Linked DNA regions of Homo sapiens: regions 1, 2 and 3 are each linked to region 4. Evidence: promoter capture Hi-C in 16 types of primary human blood cells and fetal thymus (Javierre and others, 2016). All regions are on one chromosome and are shown on one strand. The core of a region is centred on a gene start or on the middle of the fragment in contact, and the rest is flanking DNA. Distances in the headings are between cores, read along the strand shown.

Evidence for each region. The method cuts DNA at HindIII sites, captures the fragments that hold promoters and counts their contacts. A CHiCAGO score of 5 or more calls a contact.
Region 1: a fragment that was not itself captured here is called in contact with the fragment with the promoter of PIN4 in region 4 in 1 of 17 cell types (total B cells); the score reaches 5.2 in total B cells.
Region 2: a contact is called between a fragment that was not itself captured here and the fragment with the promoter of PIN4 in region 4, in 1 of 17 cell types (neutrophils). The highest score is 5.5, in neutrophils.
Region 3: the fragment with the promoter of CITED1 here is called in contact with the fragment with the promoter of PIN4 in region 4 in 7 of 17 cell types (total B cells, naive B cells, activated CD4 T cells and 4 more); the score reaches 9.5 in total B cells.

What each region holds. Positions count from the first base shown.
Region 1 is chrX:72,094,748-72,097,959 of GRCh38, reverse strand. All of the region lies in intron 1 of NHSL2 (NHS like 2), which reads right to left. Among named protein-coding and RNA genes, the nearest start is that of RTL5, 36 kb to the left of the region's middle. The HindIII fragment of the contact is 8,021 bases long and covers 1-3,212 here.
Region 2 is chrX:72,060,361-72,063,213 of GRCh38, reverse strand. The region is part of intron 1 of NHSL2 (NHS like 2); the gene reads right to left. Among named protein-coding and RNA genes, the nearest start is that of RTL5, 70 kb to the left of the region's middle. RefSeq lists a silencer at 2,301-2,595. The HindIII fragment of the contact is 4,014 bases long and covers 1-2,853 here.
Region 3 is chrX:72,304,631-72,307,479 of GRCh38, reverse strand. CITED1 (Cbp/p300 interacting transactivator with Glu/Asp rich carboxy-terminal domain 1) reads left to right here and starts at 1,566. Exons shown (of 3, transcript NM_001144887.2): 1 at 1,566-1,655. LOC105373250 (a long non-coding RNA gene) reads right to left here and starts at 1,378. Exons shown (of 3, transcript XR_938441.2): 1 at 1,260-1,378. RefSeq lists an enhancer at 511-560 and a silencer at 287-581. The HindIII fragment of the contact is 8,247 bases long and covers 1-2,849 here.
Region 4 is chrX:72,180,344-72,183,385 of GRCh38, reverse strand. PIN4 (peptidylprolyl cis/trans isomerase, NIMA-interacting 4) reads right to left here and starts at 1,629. Exons shown (of 4, transcript NM_006223.4): 1 at 1,558-1,629. The coding sequence starts at 1,600. RefSeq lists an enhancer at 1,370-1,589. The HindIII fragment of the contact is 4,711 bases long and covers 1,611-3,042 here.

The DNA.
Region 1 (3,212 bases), core at 646-3,145, 86 kb after region 4:
AATTGTGTCTGTGTGTTTTTTTCTTTCCTGGTTCAAGGGTGGGTGGAGGCAGGGTAAATGCAGGAGGCACTGGAGAGAAGGTTTGGTCCATGTTTGGGAAACCAATTTAATTGCCACCTGCAGTTAAAAATCACTAAGAGGGTTTAAGTGTTTTGAAAAGAGAACTATAGCGGTTGGAGAAAGGAAAAAAGCTCTCCAGCTTCTGGAAAACAGGTATAACAAGAGATGTGTTTGCTCCAGGGCAGATGGGAACCTCAGTCCTTAGAGTTTAATTGAGAGAGGAAGAAAGACAAGAGGTCTCAGCAGACTGTCAAGCAGATAATAGCTTCCGAAGGGTGGGTCTGCAAGAACTGAGAAATGAAAGACCTGTTGATGTGTGTAGGGGACAAGTGGTGTGGGAAAATACCAAATTTTCTTTTACACTCCTTCTCAATGCAAATGGAATAAATTCTTTAGAATAAAGAAGGGTTTTGAATGTCTGTTGGAACTTTTTTGTTTATCACAGAGAGACCTTCCCCTCCCCCTTCTCCCCCAAAAAGTTAAGAACCTGGCAGTGCAATCAGTAGCAGGAACACTGGACGGGGAGTCAGGAGACAGCCATGGTCCTGAATTTGCAGAATATGACAACAAATGATATATGTGAAATTCCCCTGGAAGCTGTAAAGCATAGTTAACTGCGGTTAAGTGTGGTTAACTGTTATGAAACTTAAGTTTGTCTGTGGCCCTTCCCATTTCTTCCCCTTTTGGGCCCTCTTCTCTTCCAACCTGTTGGTACAAAAACTACTGGGCCCAAGGTTTGAAAGGAATCCAATTCAAAGAACATATGTTGGTCCCAGAAGAGATCACCTAGACTGAAGAACGTTTTCAGCATCCTAAGTTAATGGTAACTCAGCTATTTTTAAAGTAATATCCCATTCAAAAATTGGAGGGCTAGGAAGAGATTTGTTAAATTATACAAAATTACAGCTGGGGAGGAGGAAAAAGTTCTAGTGTTCTATGCCATTGCAGGATGACTATAGTTAAAAATCACGTATCATTTCTAGGCATGGTGGCATGTGCTTGTAGTCCCAGCTACTCGGGAGGCTGAGGCAGGACGATCGCGTGAGCCCAGGAGTTTGAGTCCAGCCTGGGCAACACAGTGAGACCCAGTCTCTAAAAGAAGAAAGAATTAAAAAACCCAAATGATAATATATAGTTTCAAATAGCTAGAAGGAGGATACTGAATGTTCCCAACACAAAGAAATGATAAATGTTTGAGATAATGGGTATGCTAATTACCCTGATCTGATCACTATACATTATCTGTATACCCCATGTATATGTACAAATAATTACATTTGTCAATTTTAAAACAACTTAAAAATTGGAAGCAAACAATTTACCTTTAAGAGGAATTCTGCGTTCAACATAAAGCTAGAATGCCATATATTATCCTATACAATTTTTAAGTACTAAATGCTTTTTTCAGATTAAGTCTAGCAAGCTGATTTCTGGACTGAAGGACTGACATCATACTGCTCTACAGAGGCGAGATAAGGAGAAATGGACCCTCCATACATTGTACCTCACCAGCCTTGGGATTGGCTTTATGGGCTCCAGTGGCCCAAGTCCTGGGGACACAGTTAGCTAAAATATCTCCTTGCCTCTTCCTCACTCCCAAAAGTTAGTCCGTCACCAAGTTCCGTTGATTCTACTTACCAAATCTGTCCAGAATCTGGCCATTTCTTACCATCAGCACTGCCACCACCCTAGACCAAGCCACTATTGCAGGCAGAAGTCTCCTAAGTGGCCTCCCAGCCCCCTCTCCTGCCCTCTGGCTCTACGAAGCAGCCACAGTCAGCTTTTTAAAAGAGCAGCCCTACTGCATCTCCCTTCTGCTTGGACCTCGGATGAGGAGATCTTTGGCTAATATGTCTACCCCTGTGACCTGAAAGCTCAGGGTGCCAGCAGGAACCCTGTCTGTTTTGATGACCACTGTAATCTCAGGCCTGGCCTCATGCCTGGCATGTAGTAGACACTTATTTGTTGAATGAAGGAATGGATTTTAGCAGTGCACATTTGTACAGTGCTTTAAAGGTAACAAAAACTTCATTTGATGCTCAGAATAACCCTGTCATAACCCTGTGTTATTGCTCTCATTTTGCAGATGAGGAAATTGAGGCTCAGAGCATTGCCTATGTTGGCAGAGTTAATGCAGAGCATATTGAAATCCAGGTCTATGGGGGTCAAAAGCCCATGCCTTTCTGGCTAAACCCCTCAGAGAGCTACGGGAGTGTGGAGGGCATGGAGTTGAGAGGCACTTTGATATTTCTTGGCTGTATAAGGGGCTACTTTACTCAGGCCTTCAGGGCCCTAGAGGCAAGTCCTGTGGGGATTCCCTGCCAACCAGCCCGGGAGGACAATGGATTCTAAATCAGGCTTTCCTGGATGACTACTCTAACTACAGTGACCTTATTTTCTGAATCTCAAATCAGAATTCTTGGTCTGACAAACAGAATAAAATACTTGAAACTGGGACTTTTCTGGAAAATCCAGGGCACAGAGTTGCTGTACCTATACCACATGGCAGCTACATAATGGGCACTTCTTGGCAAATTCTGACCCAGACACCTTGGTCTATCACATCTCAAGAAGATTTCTTTTACATAACAAAAGCTGTTTTCTGGGCCTCACCCCAAATTCTTTCCATCTACATTTCTTGTTTGCTCGTTTAATTACTTCCCTTACTTGCTCTTATCTTTCCTGTTTACAGCTTTCTTCTCAGTCTGCCCGAAAGAGCTTCTAGGTCCTGCTTGCTGATGGATGCTATAAGCGATTGAGAGAAATCATAAGCAAAAGTGCTTGGGAACCATGGCAACAGGGGCCATGGCAACAGGGGCCAAGCACTGAGAGACAGCCCTTCCTGGTTTCTGTTTTAGACCAAGTGGTGCTGATAAGGCCTGATGGTCCCATTGTGTCTGCTAATCAGGCAACACTGTTAGCAGGAGGCATTATGGCAAAATTCTGGTTTCAGAAAGAGCTTTGCAATGCTCTTGCTTTACTGCACCCTGCGTTGCAATGGTGGGCTCATGGTAAAGGGCATTGCCAAATCCAGGGTTGAATCTAAAATTTGCCCCAATTACTCCTCACATGTGGTTCAAGTATACTTAGAGCTCCATGATGGACAGGCAGGCAGGTCCCAGTGTTAGGGTGACAACTGCAAAAATTTGGTT
Region 2 (2,853 bases), core at 8-2,507, 120 kb after region 4:
ATGATTTGGGAAATGTTTTTCTTTTTTGGCCCCTATCCCAGTAAGAAGCCAGAACGCCTTCTGAGAGCTGGTGTTAAGAGTAGTAGGCCAAGGCCAAGGGGGTGGAACCAGCCAAGGCCTGGATCGTGAATAAGCATACACCCCAGAGGCTAAGCAGAGACGCAGACACAAGGGAAAGAGTGCTGGCGGGAGGCTCTATGACCTTGGGCAGGCCCTGGCCATTTTGAGCCCCATTTAGTTTCCATCCGGACAGTGAAACATATGAACCTAATTACCTCCTGAGGGTCCTCTCAGCTCAGACACTCAGAGGGGGTTGTCCTATGCACTGATATTAGTCAACAAGCAGGTTCTCTGATGATCCAAGCACCCACTCTGTTCCAGGTACTATTCTGGTTACAGAGGACACAAGAATGAGAAGCCCCAGCTGCTGCCCACAGGGGGCTCCTAGGCCTCAGTCTTTCCCACATACCTCCCCCTTGGGATCGACCAGCACCAATTTCCAGAATAGAAGGTTCTCTAGACTTGCAAAGGAAACCCTCTCTAGGGTTGGAAATGCACACGCCTGTAATGGTCAGGAAGGACAGGGCCATGAATGAAGTAGGCTAGGGTAAGCCACAGGGTGTGGTGGAGACCTGGAGCATGCATGCTGGCCACCCCCAACCCTGTTCCCAAGGCACTCAACCTCCAATCTGGGAAACCTCTCTGCTGACTCAACCCAACCTATCTGTAGTTCACATTCTGCCAACAGTCTGCCAGTTTGCTTCCCACCAGCTGTGGTCTCCAAGTATTTTTGAGCCTATACTCCCATATATACATATTTATGTATAAACCATATATATGTACTACTGTGCTAATCAGTTTTATAAAATTTAAAACATAAACAAACATGGAAATTAGGATATGATAAAGATGACTGTTAATAGAAATTCTAATATTTTCTCCTTGCACCCTAATAGACGATATATCCACTTTGGAGGCCACAGGTCTAGCACACCACCCTCTGCCTTACAACCAGATGATGGAAGAAGACAAAAAGAAAGTAACAAACATGTATTGCACTCTATTATCTTTCAGGCTTTGTTCTCAATGCTCTACCTACCTCATTCATTCATTCAATAGATTTTATTGAGCCTATTATATTAGGCCCTGTGCTGGGCAGTGGGTGATAGAGGTTAATGAGGCAGATGTAAAGAGTTTACAATCCAGGCAGAGGAGACAGACAATAACCAAGTACACGAATAATCAAGGTAGGACTAGTTCCTGAGAAGTGCCATGAAGGAAATCAGCATGGTGATGTGTGATGGCAAGGGATGGGGCAGGCATGGGGAGCTAGTTTGGATGAGTGGTAAGAGAAGTTCTCTCCGAGCTAAGAACTGAGCCTGAGAAGGAGCTGGCAGAGGGAACAGAAAGTGCCAAGGCCATGAGGCCACGAAGTGAGAGGGACCTCGATGTCTTTGAGAAATGGAAAGGAAGCCAGCATGTCTAGGGTGGAAGAGGTAGGGGGTAAGAGGTGGATGTTATCTGAAGTGCAATGGGAAACCATTAGAGCATTTTAAGCAAGGGAGCGACAGGATATGATTTAAATGTTTAAAAGACCACCATGTCTGCTATGTAAACAAAGGGCTGGAGGGAAGTTCCAGTAGAAATGGGCAGGAGGCTATCGTAGTAGTCCAGGCAAAAGATGATGGGCCAGGATCAGGGTGACGGAAACAGAGAGAAGCAGGCAAGCATAAGATATATTTAAACCTCATAACAATTTCACCATCATACCCATGAAGGCTGTATTACCATCCCCATTGCACGTATGAGAAAACTGAGATTAGGGGAAGTTAAGTAACTTGCCAAAGATCACACAGCTTGTAAGTGATGAAAGCAGGATTCACCCAGGTCTGCCTGGCTTCCTTCCCAGCCTACTCAGGATTCCAAATATGTTTCCTGCTCCAGGGAGTAATTCACCAGGACAATATAGGGTCTTCCTGTTTCAATCCTGAAAAACATTGGGCATTCCGAAAAAAGAAAAAGGGATTGAGGACAATTTGATCCAGCAATCAGCCAAGGGTATGTGAGTGATTCGAACAGTCCATTCCTTCCATTTTCATAAACACACCGAGTTCACCAGAGCTCTAAGTAAGGGAAAAACCATTCTTTCCTTTGGAGTGGGGAGTGGTCAGGAGGAGGGTAGTGATGGTATATTTGGAAATAGAAAAATAAAAAGCTGCCAACTTGTGCCTTCAAGGAAAACCCAAGGGCGCAGGCCAAGACAGGGGAAGTGACTTGCCAAATCCCTCCTCACAGCCCCCAGAGTTATTCATGTGAAAAAGAAGGCGGAATTGTCCCTGCCAAAGACATGAAGTCCTTTACAGAGCACTTTGTTAGCAAAGCCTAGCATCCCTGTCACTATGCAAAGCGAGCTGGAATGTTGCCATGGCAACGGGCAGCTGGGCCCTTGAATCAGCTTGAGGCCTGCCTTGGGCTCACACAAGCCTGTGGGGGCATCTCCTGGAGGTTGGGCAGTGGGCAGGGAGCTGGTTTTATGTTTGTCGATGAGGAGTCCTGAGCTCCCTTCTAGGTAACCAGGGGTCCGAAGGCTGTGTCTTCAGGAAGTATTTCCCGTTGTCAGATATGCCTAACTTCCACAACACGCAGCATCCCAGGTTGGCATGACCTGATCATTTTCCCAATTCAATGACAGAAAATGGAAACACCCAACTGCTGTAAAACAAAACTTCTTTATGTTACAAGTATAGGAAGAAACCAAAGCCCAGAGAGGGCAAGTAACTTGCTGAGGGTTGCACAGCCTTACTAGTGCCAGAGTCAAACCACAACTCCTTTGACTTCTGAGGTAGTGTGAGT
Region 3 (2,849 bases), core at 317-2,816, 120 kb before region 4:
TTACTAAGTGGAATTTATTGGGCAAGTCCACGCAGGGCGGTGGGGAGAGCCGGTGTCCCGGGCCCTGGCCCCCGACAGCTTTAGAAGCCGGGCACTGGCCAGGGCTCCGGGCGAGGGCTGCCCATAGCCCGGACTCGCCAGCCCCACCCCGGGAGCCTTGGCCGGTCCACAGGGCTGCCGGACTCGCGTGGCCGCGTGGACTCCGTTCCCCAGCCGGCCCTTTGCTTTCACACGATCCGCGGTGACTGCACCAGCTCGAGCGCCTTTAAAGGGCCACAGACGCCAGCCGCTGCTATAAAAATGTGCCCGGCGGCAAAGCTGCAGAAGGGGCACCGCTGAGCTGCCGAGAGGAAGCTCGCTCTGCCCGGCTGCCCTCTTGTAGTCCGCCGGCGAGGGGCAGTTCTCGGTGAGGAGGAAGAGAGCAGCGGACGGCACAGCACCCGCGCGGGCCCTCCGTGAGTATCCAGTTCAGATTTTGCCACCAACTCGCCCACGAGCCAGGACATGTGCTAATAATGCCCTAAGCCGGTTATAAAGACGTGGAAATTGAGGGGAGAAAAAAAAAGGGAAAAAAAGGGTCTGTCCTTCCTGGGATTCCTAGCCGAGGCCAGTCTGCTGCCGTGTGCGTGTGCGTCAGGGCTCTCCGGGCGGCAATGGGGGCTTGAGAGCCGGGTCCCCAGCGCCGGGAAGGGAGCGCGGTGGCCGCCACCGCCACCGCCCCGGAGTCCGGCGCCGAAGCTGCGGGCGGGCGGGCGGGCACCAGCTCGGTCAGGGGCTGCTTGGCGCGGCACTGTGCGGTGCAGCGGCGGCGCGGCGCGGTGCGGGCTTTTCCCAGGCGCCCCGGGGTCGGGTGGCCAACGGCGCGGCCGCGGGCGCTGAGCGCGACCGGTTCGCGGTAGCGGTGGCGGCGGCGTGCGTGCCAGGGGCTGGGGGCTCCGCCGCCTCTCTTGCGGCTCACCGAGCTCCGCGCTTCCCTCTCTCCAGGGCAGGCGGCTTCTCAGAGGTAAGCCGGGCCGCCGGGCTGGGCGCCGGGCTGGGCGGCGGGGCCGAGGACTCCCGTGGAGCGGGTATGGGGAGTGGGCGGCCGCCAGGCGGGCCGGAGGGTTCTGGGGAGACTTGCTTTCTGTTGGAAAGCTGCTCTGCTGGGGGCGAGGGGCCGCCCGCCCGCCCGCCCGCCAGCGCTCGGGTTCGCTTGCCAGCGCGCCCCCCTGCCGGCCAGCGGGGCCGGGTGCCCGCTTCTCCCGGGGAGACGGCAGCACCTTTTCTCCCTGCGCCCGCGCTTTCTCCAGCTTGGCTTCCACCGACTTTGCTAATCTCCCGGACCGCATCTGGACGCTCTGGCTCCGGAGCTGCACAAAGCTCAGATTTACTTCGGGGAATTGAGGCAAGAGGGGGCTTTTCGGGCCGAGTTCAGCGGAATTGCGGGATGGAAGTTAGCGAATTTGGGCAACTTGCCTCTACTGCCCAGTCGACCTCAGCCCTCCCCTCCCCCGACACACGCCCACACACACACACCCACGCGCACACCCCTCTCCCTATAAACGCGGGCTGGCGAGCCGCGCGCCGAGTCCCTGCTTCGCAGAGCACCGGACTTGGAGTCAGAGAGACCTGGCTGCGAATCCCGGCTCCGCCACTTTCTAGCGCTGTGACCTTGGGCAAGTTACCGCACCTCTCCGAGCCTCTCTCACTCTTCTCCTAGCGGGGTTTTAGCACTGACCGCAGGCGGCTTGGCTAGGGGGTAGGCTCAGCCTGCTGCCGCGTCGGATGCTCAGCGGGCGCTCAGTAAGTGTTGATCAGGCGCGAGAGTGGCAGCAGCCGGCGCCGGAGTGCGGACTCGCCGCGGAGGCCGACACCCCGTGCCCCTTCCTGCCTGTCCATCCTGTCTCTAAGATCAGTTCCTGATACAGCACTTGCGGGAACGGACGCTCAGGGCCCCGGTGGCCTGGGTGCACGCGCCCGCCGTGCAAGGGATGCTCCCGGCCGCCCCCGGTTCCGCGGCTCCATCTGGGATGCGGCGAGGAGGGCAGCCGAGCTGTCCGCAAACAACGGGCCTTTAGTTTTCAGGTGGCGAAACTGACTGGTCTGGTTAGAGCGCGTCCAAGCCAAGCCGCAGTGCTGTTTGGATTTTTAAATTTCTCCTTCTGAGTGAGAAAATAGCAATCGAGATGGAACCATCCGGTTGGTGCCATTTTAACTTTTGGTCCCCCAACAGGTTAAAGATGAGGCCCCCACCTGCCTCTCCCTTCTCTTTTCCCTCTCCCCTTCCCACCCCTGTCTAGGCGGGAGGGGGCTGCTCGCCCAAGGGAAGGCCTGAAGCGAAGAGCGGGCAGCGGGACTGGGAACTGGTGGCCGGGGGGCCGCCAGGCATCAGCCGGCGAGAAGGCACTTGTTGCTCTAGGTTTCCCAGCCGCCTGTCGCAGCCGTTTCGCAGTGGTCAGCTCGCGGCTTGGAGAGCGGGCTGGGACGTTTCCGCGTTGCCAAGTTTTGCCCACGAACGGGCTAGAGGGTGGTGGAGGAGGGCAGAAAGCCGGGGAAGCAGAGCCAGGGATGCCGATGGAAATGCGATTGCTTCTTCAGACGCATTCAACAACACTTACTGAGCGCCTATTGAGCGCAGACCCAGGCTGGGGTCAGGGTGGGTGGTGGGTCAGTAATGGAAGGCAGAAGATCTGAATGGACACAGGGCCTCTTCTGGGGGAGCTCCCAGATTGAAGAGGGAGGCGCGGTAAAATGGTCTTCCCCCACGAACTGATATCAGAATAGAGAGAGTTTTTTTGCTCGTTCTCTCTTTTGATTTTTCTAATGTTTCTCTTTTGGTTTTGCTGTTGTTGCTGCTGCTCCTGTTGTTT
Region 4 (3,042 bases), core at 380-2,879:
ACACTCTAATGGGCTCAACTACCATCTATAAGTTAGCGACTCCTAAAACTTACATGTACAGTCTAGACCTCTCCCTCAAACTTTAGACTCAAATATCCAACCACTTCCTGACTACATCTCCACTGAGATGTCCCACAGACACCTCAAAGCCAATCTATCTGAAAGTGAATTCATCAATCTCATCCCCGCTCCTCATGTATCCTTGATGTTACCCTGCAGGACCAGCAACAGGTTAGAAATCCAATCCAGAAAACAGAATGATCGTTGATCCTCCCTCACCACCCCTCCCCAACCCAATAAATCACCAAGTCTTGACTATTTCACATCCTAATATTTACAGAATCTTTTCTCTTTTCTCAGTTCCCACAGCCACTCCCTTAGGTCAGTCCACCATCATCTCTCACCAAGACTACCACAACAATCTCCTTACAGGTCTTTCTGATCCTTAACTGTCCTTCTTAGCAGAATATATAGCACTCTCCATGATCTCGTCTTTGTTTCTGTTTTCATTCTCACCACTTGCCATTCTGCCTTGAGTTTTTGCTCCAGCAACACTACGCTGCACACATCATGCTGTTTCTCACCTCAGTGCTTTTGCTGCTGGACCCCAAGTAAGGAATGCTTTAACCTACCCTCAATGCACATCTTGACCTGCCTAATTCATCTCCAGGAAGTCTTCCGTTCCCTGTTCCCCAGCTAAATGAAGGACTTCCCTCAATTTCTATTATATCCCATACACATCCCTCAACACTACATTTAGTACAGTGCTTTATGATCACTAAGCCTTTATCTTCCTCACTACTTCGGGAGCTCCTTAAGGCCAAAATCTCTTTTTTTTTTTTGAGACAGAGGCTCGCTCTGTCGCCCAGGCTGGAGTGCAGTGGCGCGATCTCGGTTCATTGCAACCTCTGCCTCCCGAGTTCAAGCGATTCTCCTGCCTCAGCCTCCCGAGTAGCTGGGATTACGGGCGCGCACCACCACCACGCCTGGCGAATTTTTGTATTTTTAGTAGAGACGGGGTTTCGCCATGTTGGCCAAGCTGGTCTCGAACTCCTGACCTCGTGATCCATCCTCCCTCGGCCTCCCAAAGTGCTGGGATTATAGGCGTGAGCCACCGCGCCCAGCCTTCTGTCTTATTTGTGTATCCTCAGCGCTTAGCACTCTGCCTGACACATTTCTGTTCAATGGATGAATGATTCCTTCCCCGATGGTGGGCATGTCATTCTGTAAGCATTAAAGTGAACTTTAAGGACCATAACCAATGTGTACTTCCTATTGCTGGCTTTTGATAAGACCCAATTTTAGAGCTCTAATAACCCCTTGAAATAGCAGCCCTAAGTCATCGCCTCCGAGGAACTATCCCCATCAGATTCCATTACCCACTAGGACGGTCCCTGAACCGTAGCCCAATGTATTCCTACAGATGTAATCGATGGCAGCACTGTGGGGCCACTGGCTACCTGCTGCGTCCGTCCCGGACTCCGGAGATGGACTGTCTGTTCCCTCCCTTCGCTCCTCACCCGCCCCCATTCTCCTTGATCGCTCTGGCCGCTCTACCTTTCCCCGCTTTTCCAGAACCACTTTTTCCTTTGGGCGGCATCTTGGAAGCTTGTTGTTGAACGCTGAACCGCTCCAGTTGCCGTACAAGCCCCTTTAGAAGCCCCGCCATGGGCATGTCCTAAACAAATGCCTGAAAGCCGCATCTCAATTGACCGTTCTTATTGCGGCTCCGGAAGCAGGCACAGCTTGGGGCAGACCCCGTCCTTTGGCTCTTGGACCAATGGGGCTGAAGATGTCTGACCAATAAGACGCTTGGGCCGAAACAAAGGCAGAGGGGCGGAGACAAAGGCCGGATTAGGGCGGGAAGCCTGGCCTCTGCGCTTTTTGTGACTTCTTTCACGCACCCTAATTTGCACCAGATCCCCCACTCCCCACACTCTACGCCCGAAGCTCCCCCGTTCCCCTCAACCTGGCTTTTTTCACGCGTGCGCAGTAGGAGCCACGGGGGTGGGTGGCTCTGCAGTCCCTCGGCGCCAGCTCTGGCCAATCCCGCGGGGCCGCCAGACAAAGGGAAGCAGGAGTACTGTGGTGGCGGCCAACTTCCGCTGTCTCCTCCTACACACAGGGCTGCCCTCCCTGGCAGTTTTTCGTTTGTTAATTTTATTCTGCAGTTGTAGCTAATTAGGTTCAAAAGGTAGTTTTTAAAAAAGCCTGTCACCTTTTTGCGTCTTGCAGAGCTCAGTCATGGAGAAACATTGGAAGCAGTCTGAGTGCTCCTCAGTCGGGTACTGCTTAAATAATGTTTTAGCCACACAAGAAGATATTATACAACATTCAAAATAACGATTGTAAGGCTGTGTGTACAGATAGGGGAAATGTTTTTAAGACCAAGATAAAGAATATGATTCCTTGTAAAAGAAGTATATGTAATGTATTGTATGTTATATGAATATAAAGGAGAGGAAAGCTATAGAGCAAGATGTGGCCAGTGGTGCTAGTGCATACAGGTCATCGTGTTTGTTTCTGTGTATTTTCCAAAATTTCCATAATGGTGCAGCATAGTGTAGTAAAAGCATGGATTCTGGAGCCAGATTGCCCAGTTTCAAATCCCTGCTCCACATCTGTCTACTAGCTCCATGACCTTGAGGAAGTTACTTCACCTCTCTTTGGCTCAGTTTCATCATCTGTGAAATGGAGTTGATGATAATAGTACCTACTATTATCCTATCAGGTGTTAAGAGAATTAAACAAGTTCATATCTGTAAAGCACATAAAATGATGGCTTGCTCATATTAATAATGTTTGCCTAAGATAAATGATTTTTGAATTTGTGCCCACACACTTTTTCTCCCCTTACAATCCCTCCCACCATCAATAATTTGTATATGATATGTCAGGGCGTTTCCTCCAGTCCATGAGAGAGCTGTCCTAGCTTGCCACTACCAGCCAGAATATAGAGGTCTTCCAGCTCAGAGTTTAGTTTTTGGATGCAGCCTTGCTGGACCTGGAGATGCTTCATGCTCATACCAGGGAATCAGGTGT